Regions from separate parts of the Homo sapiens genome. Here region 1 is linked to region 2. Evidence: promoter capture Hi-C in human tissues and cell types (Jung and others, 2019). All regions are on one chromosome and are shown on one strand. Each heading gives the region's core, a stretch centred on a gene start or on the middle of the fragment in contact. The rest is flanking DNA. Distances are from core to core; before and after follow the strand shown.

The links. The method cuts DNA at HindIII sites, captures the fragments that hold promoters and counts their contacts. A contact is called where the count stands out against the background at its distance.
Region 1: a contact is called between a fragment that was not itself captured here and the fragment with the promoter of KATNA1 in region 2, in 1 of the 25 tissues and cell types used here (liver).

Annotation. Positions count from the first base shown.
Region 1 is chr6:149,595,083-149,599,735 of GRCh38, reverse strand. KATNA1 (katanin catalytic subunit A1) reads left to right here. Exons shown (of 11, transcript NM_007044.4): 8 at 1,386-1,512; 9 at 2,095-2,229; 10 at 2,547-2,673; 11 at 4,502-4,653. Among named protein-coding and RNA genes, the nearest start is that of GINM1, 31 kb to the right of the region's middle. The HindIII fragment of the contact is 3,845 bases long and covers 153-3,997 here.
Region 2 is chr6:149,645,778-149,650,429 of GRCh38, reverse strand. KATNA1 (katanin catalytic subunit A1) reads left to right here and starts at 1,716. Exons shown (of 11, transcript NM_007044.4): 1 at 1,716-1,961. RefSeq lists a silencer at 1,497-1,766 and an enhancer at 1,837-1,916. The HindIII fragment of the contact is 16,640 bases long and covers 1-4,652 here.

The sequences.
Region 1 (4,653 bases), core at 826-3,325, 51 kb after region 2:
GACCAGCCTGGCCAACATGATGAAACCCCGTCTCTACTAAAAATACAAAAATTAGCCAGGTGTGGTGGCGTGCACCTGTAATCCCAGCTACTTGGGAGGCTGAGGCAGGAGAATTGCTTGAACCGGGGTGGCAGAGGTTACAGAGAGAGGGAGAGGGGAGAGGGGAGAGGGGAGGAAAGAAAGAAAGGGATGATTTGCAAATGAAAAAGAGGCTTCTCTTACCAGAAGTGTGCTGTGCAGGGAGAACCAATTGGTGTCCTCTACCGTACCTTCCTGGGCCAGCTAAACCCAGGACACATAGCCTTTCCTTGAAGTCAGATCATTCTACATAACCTCAGTATGTGGGAAGAATCAGTCTAGTCACTTTTGCTTGGTGTGGCAACAGACTGAAGTTTAATTTTTGTTGATGTAGGTGCTTTTGATAGATGCTTCCTAAAATTTTAGTTGAGAATTTTCTTGGATGTTTTAATGATGATGAAGTTCACTCTTTCCCTCTCTCCATTTGTTGAAAAAGTACAAAAATATTTATACATAAAGACCCAAGTATTGACTCTCTTTAAAGATGAAATTATCCCACTAGGTACAGTGGCTCATTGTAATCCTAGCATTTTGGGAGGCCGAGGCAGGAAGATTGCTTGAGTCTAGGAGTTTGAGACCAGCCTAGGCAACATAATAAGACACCATCTCTACCAAAAATATAAAAATAAGCCTGGTGTGGTGGCACACACCTGTAGTCCTAGCTACTCGGGAGGTTGAGGTGAGAGGATTGCTTGAGCCCAGGAGCTCAAGGTTGAAGTGAGCCAAAATCATATCACTGCACTCCAGCCTGGATGACAGAGCAAGACCTTGCCTCTTAAAAAAAAATAAATAAATAAAAAACGGTTCATTAGAAGCCATATTTTAGCTGTTCTAATTCTATCCCATCTCCCCAGTATTAGCGTGAGAGAAAGATGCACAGTGTGGCAGGCTCCTTAGCTGTTTTGTTGTTTTCTTTCTTTCCTCTTGTTTTAGAGACAGGTTCTCACTCTGTCACCCAGTCTGGAATACAGTGGTGTGGTGTGATCATAGCTCACTGCAGCCTTGAACTCCTGGGCTCAAGGGATCCTCTCACCTAGCCTCCTGAGTAGCTGGGACTCAGACACGTGTAACCACACTCAACTAATATTTTAATTTTCTGTAGAGATGGAGTCTTGCTATGTTGCCCAGGCTGGTCTCGAACTCTTGGGCTCAATCCATCCTCCTGCCTCACCCTCCCAGTGTTGGGATTACAGGTGTGAGCCACTGTGCCCAGCCTCCCTCAGCTATTTTCTGATTGCTAATCTGTAGATTATTTTAAAATGAAATAATAGCTTAATAGCTTGATATTGCATGGTTTCTTCCTTTAGGCTCGATTTTATTCTCCAGCCACCATATTTATTGATGAGATAGACTCCATCTGTAGTCGCCGAGGGACTTCTGAAGAACATGAAGCAAGCAGAAGGGTGAAAGCGGAGCTGCTGGTTCAGATGGATGGTATCTGTGTTTAGCTTGAGTTGAACAGGGACGGGAGGTTGTTAGGTGTGGTGTCTCCAGTTCCAGTGGGTCAAACTTTACTCATAGTGCTAACCCAAGCTTTTAATAGGTATTCTTAACTTCAGATGGACTAGAGGGGGTGGCAAGAAGTTCCTGATAGTGATAGTAATAGATTTGGTACACTGACAGTGGTGACAAGTCAGAATTAATGGCCACACACAGGGCACCCTTTTGGTATATACAACTATCTTACTTTAGCTATGAAATTGAAATAAAAATAAATGCAGATAAATTGGCCTTAGAGTTTATGTACGCTTTGAAAAAGATTTAAAATTGTTATGTATTTGAGATCTGGCTTTTCGATTAAATCTATTTTGAGTCATATATTTGCATACTACAGAACTCATTTTCTTTGGATTACAAATTCACATAGGTACCAGTTAACCTAAGTCTTAAGGAGGCATTAAGACTGTGCTTCCTTGTATTGTTGTACTAAATAGTTGTTGATCTTTAAATAGCTGAGCTTCATTTGGTATAATCCAACTTAATATCTTTTTCACTCTCCCCTTACCCTTATTTTAGGTGTTGGAGGTACTTCTGAAAATGATGACCCTTCCAAAATGGTTATGGTTCTGGCAGCTACTAATTTTCCCTGGGATATAGATGAGGCTTTAAGACGACGCCTTGAGAAACGAATCTATATTCCTTTGCCGTCAGGTATCTTCCTTTCAATCTTGTCAGAAAGCCTGTTAACTTTCATGTAGTTTTGTTTAGAGAATTTAAAATTTGTTATTAACTAACTTTCTGGAAGAGATACATGAGGAGTATCTTCCTTTACAGTACTAGTTTGGCTATATGCCTTAATACTAAATAGTAAGGAATTAAAAAGTAAAGAATGGCTCTTTACTTAATTATCTCTTCTTAGAGATCCAATTCTTACTGGAAGACAACATCTCACACAAAGAAGATTTGAGACAATAGTATACTATGTTTATGCTGCAGGCTTACATTTTAAAATTTGTTTCTACCATTAGCAAAAGGCAGGGAGGAGCTATTACGAATAAGTCTACGTGAGTTGGAATTGGCTGATGATGTTGACCTTGCAAGTATAGCAGAAAACATGGAAGGTTATTCAGGTGCGGACATTACCAACGTGTGCAGGTATGAATTATCATGGAAGCATAGGTTTTTGTAAGCATAAACTTCTAGTATGAAGTTTTTTGGTTTTGTTTTTTGAGACACAGTCTCGCTCTGTTGCCTAGACTGGAGAGTAGAGGCGCAGTCACAGCTTACTGCAGCCTGAAACTCCTGGGCTCAAGTGATCCTCTGACGTGAAGTTTTTATGCTGAATTAAGACAGATCAATATCTTGGTGGTGGCTCACGCCTGTAATCTCAGCACTTTGGGAGGCCAAGTGGGAGATCACTTGAGCCCAGGAGTTTGACTGGCCTGGGTAACATTGCAAGACCTCATATCCATGAAAAAAATTTTAAAAATTAGCCGGGCATGGTGGTTCCCACCTGCTCAGGAAGCTGAGGCAGGAGGATCGCTTGAGCCCAGGAGTTTGAGGCTGCAGTGAGCCATGATTGTGCCACTGCACCCCAGCCTGGGCGACAAAGCAAGACCCTGTGTCCAAAGAAAAAAAAAAAAGATGAATAAAGACCCACATTCCAGTTTTGTTTTGTTTTTTGAGACGGAGTCTCGCTCTGTCACCCAGGCTGAAGTGCAGTGGTCCGATCTCGGCTCACTGCAACCTTTGCCTCCTGGGTTCAAGTGATTCTTGTGCCTCAGCCTCCCGAGTAGCTGGGATTACAGGCATGCACCACCACACCTGGCTAATTTTTGTATTTTTAGTAGAGACGGTGTTTCACCATGTTGACCAGGCTGGTGTCGAACTCCTGACCTCAAGTGATCCGCCTGCCTCAGCCTCCCAAAATGCTAAGATTACAGGCGTGAGCCACCATGCCCGGCCCCACATACATTTTGTAGTCAGGGTCACAAATTCTGGTTTTGTTGGTGTTAGCAGGTGCTGGTAAGATATCTGGTATCTTTCATGTCAGTGAAGAGTCTACAGTTCATTTGAAAGCTACAAGTTCAAGAAGCTAATGTTAGGATAAATTGTGTAAAATAGAAAATCAGTAATTGTCTTGGATTAAATAAATTGTTGGTGCCTTTGTTCACTATATTATAAAATACGAAATGACTGTGAAATATATTGACTTGGCATATGCACAGAATACAGTCTCATTCTCAGTGAACTTATCCTAAATGTGACAGAATAGCAGTAAAAAGAAAAAAAGAATGTCTTTAATCCAGCTGGTTCAAGTAGGTTTTGTCCTAATCTAAGTATTAGTAGAGACACTTAATTAACCAGGGGCTTGACTGCGCTCGTTTCCTCCTTTCTAAAGTGAGCATACCACACAGGGTTCTGAGGATTAAAGCTAAAGTGTATACATCAAACAGCTCTATTGCTATCCCTTTGCATAAATGGTGGCTGCTATTAAGGATAAAACTTGGTAAAAGGCAAGAGCTGTTTGAATCTGAAGTTTTGTTTTTTTTTTTTAACACAAATGAGAAAAGGAGAAACCCTGAACTTACCTAGCTTTTCCTCTACATGGAGAAAATATTTAATTTTCTTGTTAACAGTTTCTCTTCTCTTCTGACTCTGTGATGCTTATTCTTCATTTTATTGAATAGTTATAATGAAATTCAAATTGCTAGCTTTAACCCCACTTTTACTTTTTCTGGGATTTTATATTCAGTATTAATTATTTAAATTAGCATCCTTTTTCATTACAGAAGATTTAACTGCTTAAAAATCAATCACAACAGGCTTTGTATTCCAATAAGTTTCTATACAATACTACATATATATGTAATATAATTAGAGAATGCTACAACAGATCAATTGAAAATTTTTCTATTAACAGGTTTTCATTTAACCAAAGTAACATTGTGTGTGTTGTTGTTGTTTTTAACTTAAAACCTAGGGATGCGTCCTTGATGGCAATGAGAAGGCGCATTGAAGGTTTGACTCCAGAGGAAATCCGAAATCTTTCCAAAGAAGAAATGCACATGCCTACAACTATGGAGGATTTCGAGATGGCTTTAAAAAAGGTTTCTAAGTCAGTGTCTGCTGCAG
Region 2 (4,652 bases), core at 467-2,966:
GCCTCAGGCAGCCAACCACTGATCAGCTATTATTATAGATTAGTTTTGCCTGTTCTAAAATTTCTTTTCTTTTTCTTTTTTTTTTTTTTGAGACAGAGTCTTGCTCTGTCACCCAGGCTGGAGTGCAATGGCGCGATCTTGGCTCACTGCAGCCTCTGCCTCCTGGGTTCAAGCGATTCTCGTGCCTCAGCCACCCAAGTAGCTGAGATTACAGGTGTGCGCCACCAGACCCAGCTAATATTTGTATTTTTAGTAGAGACGGGGTTTCACCATGTTGGCCAGGCTGGTCTCAAACGCCTTGACCTCAAGTGACCCACCCGTCTCGGCCTCCCAAAGTGCTGGGATTACAGGTATGAGCCACCGTGCCTGGCCTAGAATTTCTTATCAATGGAATCATACAATATGTATTAATTTTGTGGCCTTTGAGAAGTTTTTTAACTGTAAATTGGCTTTATAAATTAGCATACCTTTGAACTCACATAAAGGATGAAGGTTGAATTAGGGTAATTAATCTGTACCTCCCTGAATTGGTTTTGATTCCAAAAATATATACTAAATATAGTTTCCTGTTCCCTATTACAATAGAGTTCATATTTACTACAGTGAAACTATCATTTTCCACTCAGTTGAGACGTTACAAGACTTTAAGCCCCATGAAACATTCTATTTCGTGACCACTGTATACCCAGTGCCAACACTGTCTCACACATAGTAGTTGCTGAGTAAACATTTGTTGACTGAATGGATGTATTTCCCCTGAATTGCTTCTACATGTCTATGTTAGATGACTGGGGTGCTTTTATTTTTTTAGAGATAGGGCCTCACTTTGTCTCCCAGACTGGAGTGCAATGGCGCCATCATGGCCCACTGCAGCCTCCAACTCCTGGGCTCAAGTGATCCTCTTGTGTCAGCCTCCTGAGTAGTTGTGACTACAGGCGTGCGCCACCATGTCCAGCCAATTTTTGTACTTTTTGTAGAGACGGGGGGTCTCACTATATTGCCCAGGCTGGTCTTGAACTCCCGGCTCAAGCTATTCTCCCGCCTCAGCCTCCCAAAGTGCTGGGATTACAGGGATGAGCCACTGTGCCCAGTCGGGATGCTTTAATGTTAGAAACTTAATTACCTTGCGTTTTTAAAGGAATGTGTGAGAAGTGCCCTATTCTGCCTCAAGTGATGGCAGAGGGTGGAGATTGAGACTGGAGGAAGCCCTGTGCAGTACATATCTGTAAGTCATGAAATAGCATCATTTTCCTTGTCTGGTCATATTAAAACGGTGATTAAAAAATCAAGAAAATAAAATCCCACTAGCAGTGTGTCCGAGAATCTTTGTTTACCTCCTCCCTATTGTTATGTCATGACATGGAGCCCAGCTGGGGAATTCTGAATACTAGGTTCTAAAACAGGATTTGTCATAAACGAATTGCTTGATCCTGGACATTCACCTCTAAAATAGACACCTGACCTCGGTGTGTGTGTGAGTGTGGTGAAAATCAAGTGGGAGGGAAAGTGAGCAAGCACCTGAACAAGGTACAGAGGCGCGCGAGGTAGTACCATAATACCATCTACACCAAGGTCTATACTATCCCTGGTCTCCGCTGCGTCCGCCGGGAGGAGGCGGTGCAAGAATGCGCACGCGCGGCCCCGGGCCCGGCCACACCCTCTTCCGCCGCTCCCGCCCAGCGACCTCGCTCCCGGGGCGACGCCCCGCGTGCGCCAGAGTCGCCGAGGTCGTCCCCGGCACCGGAAGTGACCCTGGCGGGTTTGTCTTCAAATTCTCGGCGAGCAGGAGCCGCGCCGGCAGGTGGTGTTGACGATTGAACTGGGCAGTACTGGGGCCGTGAGCGGAGAGCAAAGTGGGCTGGACTGGGTCAGGCCCTCCTTCCTCGCTGCCGGGATCTCCACTCCGCCAATCCCCTGTGCCTGGCGTTGGGCGGTTTCCCGAGGAGCTTGGGCCGCCGCAGGTGAGTTTTCACTCTGGCGGTGCTCTGGGGACCCCCGATTTTCCAGGGCCGGGCTGGTGAGGGACTCGGGGGGCCCACAGCGAGAACCCGCCGCGCAACCCTCCGTGAGCCTGCCTGTGCCTGAGCTGAGGTCCTAGGTCCTTGCTGTTGTCCACGATAACTTGGCTTAGGTGACAGTCCCCCTACCTGAGGAATCCTGTCAGGCGGAGGACTTTTCGGGGGCTCCTGTCGATCCCATCTTTTGATCTGTGTCGTTAGCGAAGTCACCAGCCGAGTTTTTAGTTCTTCGATTTTTCGACTGGTTCTCTCCAGAACCCGCTCACGCCCCCCACCCCGAAACCCTCACAGGTAAAAATCCCGATGGCCATGACATTGGGAGGCAACTTCTTTTCTTAAAATTTGTTAGGTTCGAGTGATATTGTTGGGGATGTTATTTCTTATTTATTCTAGAGCCCGGCGTCCTCTGGAAGGCCTGTGGGCCTTTTGGTTTAGAGTTGGTACCTTTTAGAAAAGTTTTCCCTCGAAACAGTTGTTTCATACAAATGTGATGACAAAGTTAGAGATAAACGTAGATCCTGAAGTGCCTTACAGTGGATAATCTCAAGCTCTTATTTAATCAAAAATAGTTTCCTGTTAAAACCGCGAAGGGCCGCTTTTATATTAGTTACTAACTTCCAACAGCACAGTGATGCTCTTTTCTCTTGAAAGCACTAATTTACGTCTTCCTCTTTGAAATTAGACCTCTAGTTATTGCTGAAAACATTCCCGATGTTTTAGAATGGGTGCAGTAGATCTTTGTCACGTAATCACAATGATAATCACCTTAGTAGATGTTAAGACAGATTCTTGAAATGTTTTTACGGGCTTAAATGTCTCAGTATAAAGCCCTATTTTCTTTTCCAAAAGAGCTGGGTTTTGTTCTTTTTTTTTTTTTTTTTTTTTTTTTTGAGACGGAGTCTTGCTCTGTCGCCAGGCTGGAGTGCAGTGGCGCAATCTTGGCTCACTGCAACCTCCGCCTCCCGGGTTCAAGCGATTCCCCTGCCTCAGCCTCCTTGAGTAGCTGTGACTACAGGCGCGCTCCACTACGCGCGGCAAATTTTTTGTATTTTAGTAGAGATGGGGTTTCACCATGTTGGCCAGGCTGGTCTCGATTTCCAGACATTGTGATCCGCCCGCCTAGGCCTCCCAAAGTGTTGGGATTACAGACGTGAGCCACTGCGCCCGGCCGGTTTTTGTTCTTATACCAAGAAATAGGAGCAAAACTTTGTTTTGTATTAACATTAACAAGTTGTGGCCTGTAAATACCTTTAAAAAAAAAAACACGCAGTAGTGATCAACTTCCCAACATTCCTAGACTATGAAAAGCTATATAAAGCTTCTTTATAGCGTTGGTTATTCAAGAAGCGTTTACATTTTTATAGGTAATAGGCATGCTATGTAGTCCACAAGGGATTCTCCACCTCATTTTGAAACTGGTATCAAGATGCTGACAAATATTGAGGATTAGAGAATCTTGTTGAATTCACTCTATTAACAACATTGTTGAATTTCTATTAACAATAGTTTGGGTTTTTTTAGCCACTTGACTGTTTAAAAAAGATAGTATTATCACATAAATATGGTCAGTGTTGATAACATGCCAAATAGCTTTTGCTTGTGGCGTTTATCGATAGGGCTTGAATATGACTTTTAAATTACGTTTTAATAATTAAACTCACTGATTTGTTTGTTTAGGGTAAACTGAAAGTTTACTGTACAAATAGAGTGGACTTTATATGTACTTTTTTTCTGAACAGGTTGCTTTTTGGTGTTTTTAAAAAATAGTGGTAACTTTCTTGTGCTTAAGTATTTATCATATGATGGTTATAAAGGTAAGAAAAATGTATGCCATGCTGTAATTGGTCATGGGTCATTCATTTATTGTGCTTATTCGTAATCATCAGTGGCTGACTATAAATTAGCATGTGGTTTCTTTCATATCCCAGAGATGAACATTCTGAAAATTACTTACCAATGTATGGCCACTTTTGAAGTCATATACACTTGCTTTACTGAAATGCCTTCAGGAAGATGCATGATTGGGCTTCGTGATCTTTTTGTTTTAGGAGGTAAATTTTACAGAGAGGTATTTAAAAAACACTTTCAGCCTTCCAACATTGCTGCTGATTTTTTAGTCTGTGTTTAATAATATTCTATGTTTGTCTTCTCTTACTAAGCAAAGAAAACCCACCTAGAATAAATAAGGTGATATCCCTTCTATTAAACTTCAAGGATTTCAAGGTCTAATTCTGTCTTATTTTTGTCTTCAGTGCAATTCCTTGCAACTTAGTTGGTGTTCCTTTAATATTTCTTGAATGAATGACCCATGCACATTATGTTAAAAAAAACTGCAAATAAGTGGAGCCCAGCCTGAGTCCTTTAAAAATTAAATGGGTAAGGTATCCTCTTTAGGTGTGAAATAGGCAGGGCCCTGTATTTGTTGTTTAGAGAGAGAATAAGAATCTTAGAACTCAGATATTTCAATATTTTGCCTGTTCTTTTTCAGTCTCTGTGATCACTTCTTTTTCCTAATCCTAGAGGAGAAAAAAAAAAACTTTCTCTGTGGAGAGACAGCACTGCATCACATACTATATTGCTAGAAAATTTGCTGTAAAATTGCGATTTCAGTATTTTTAAAAATTTGATTCTGTC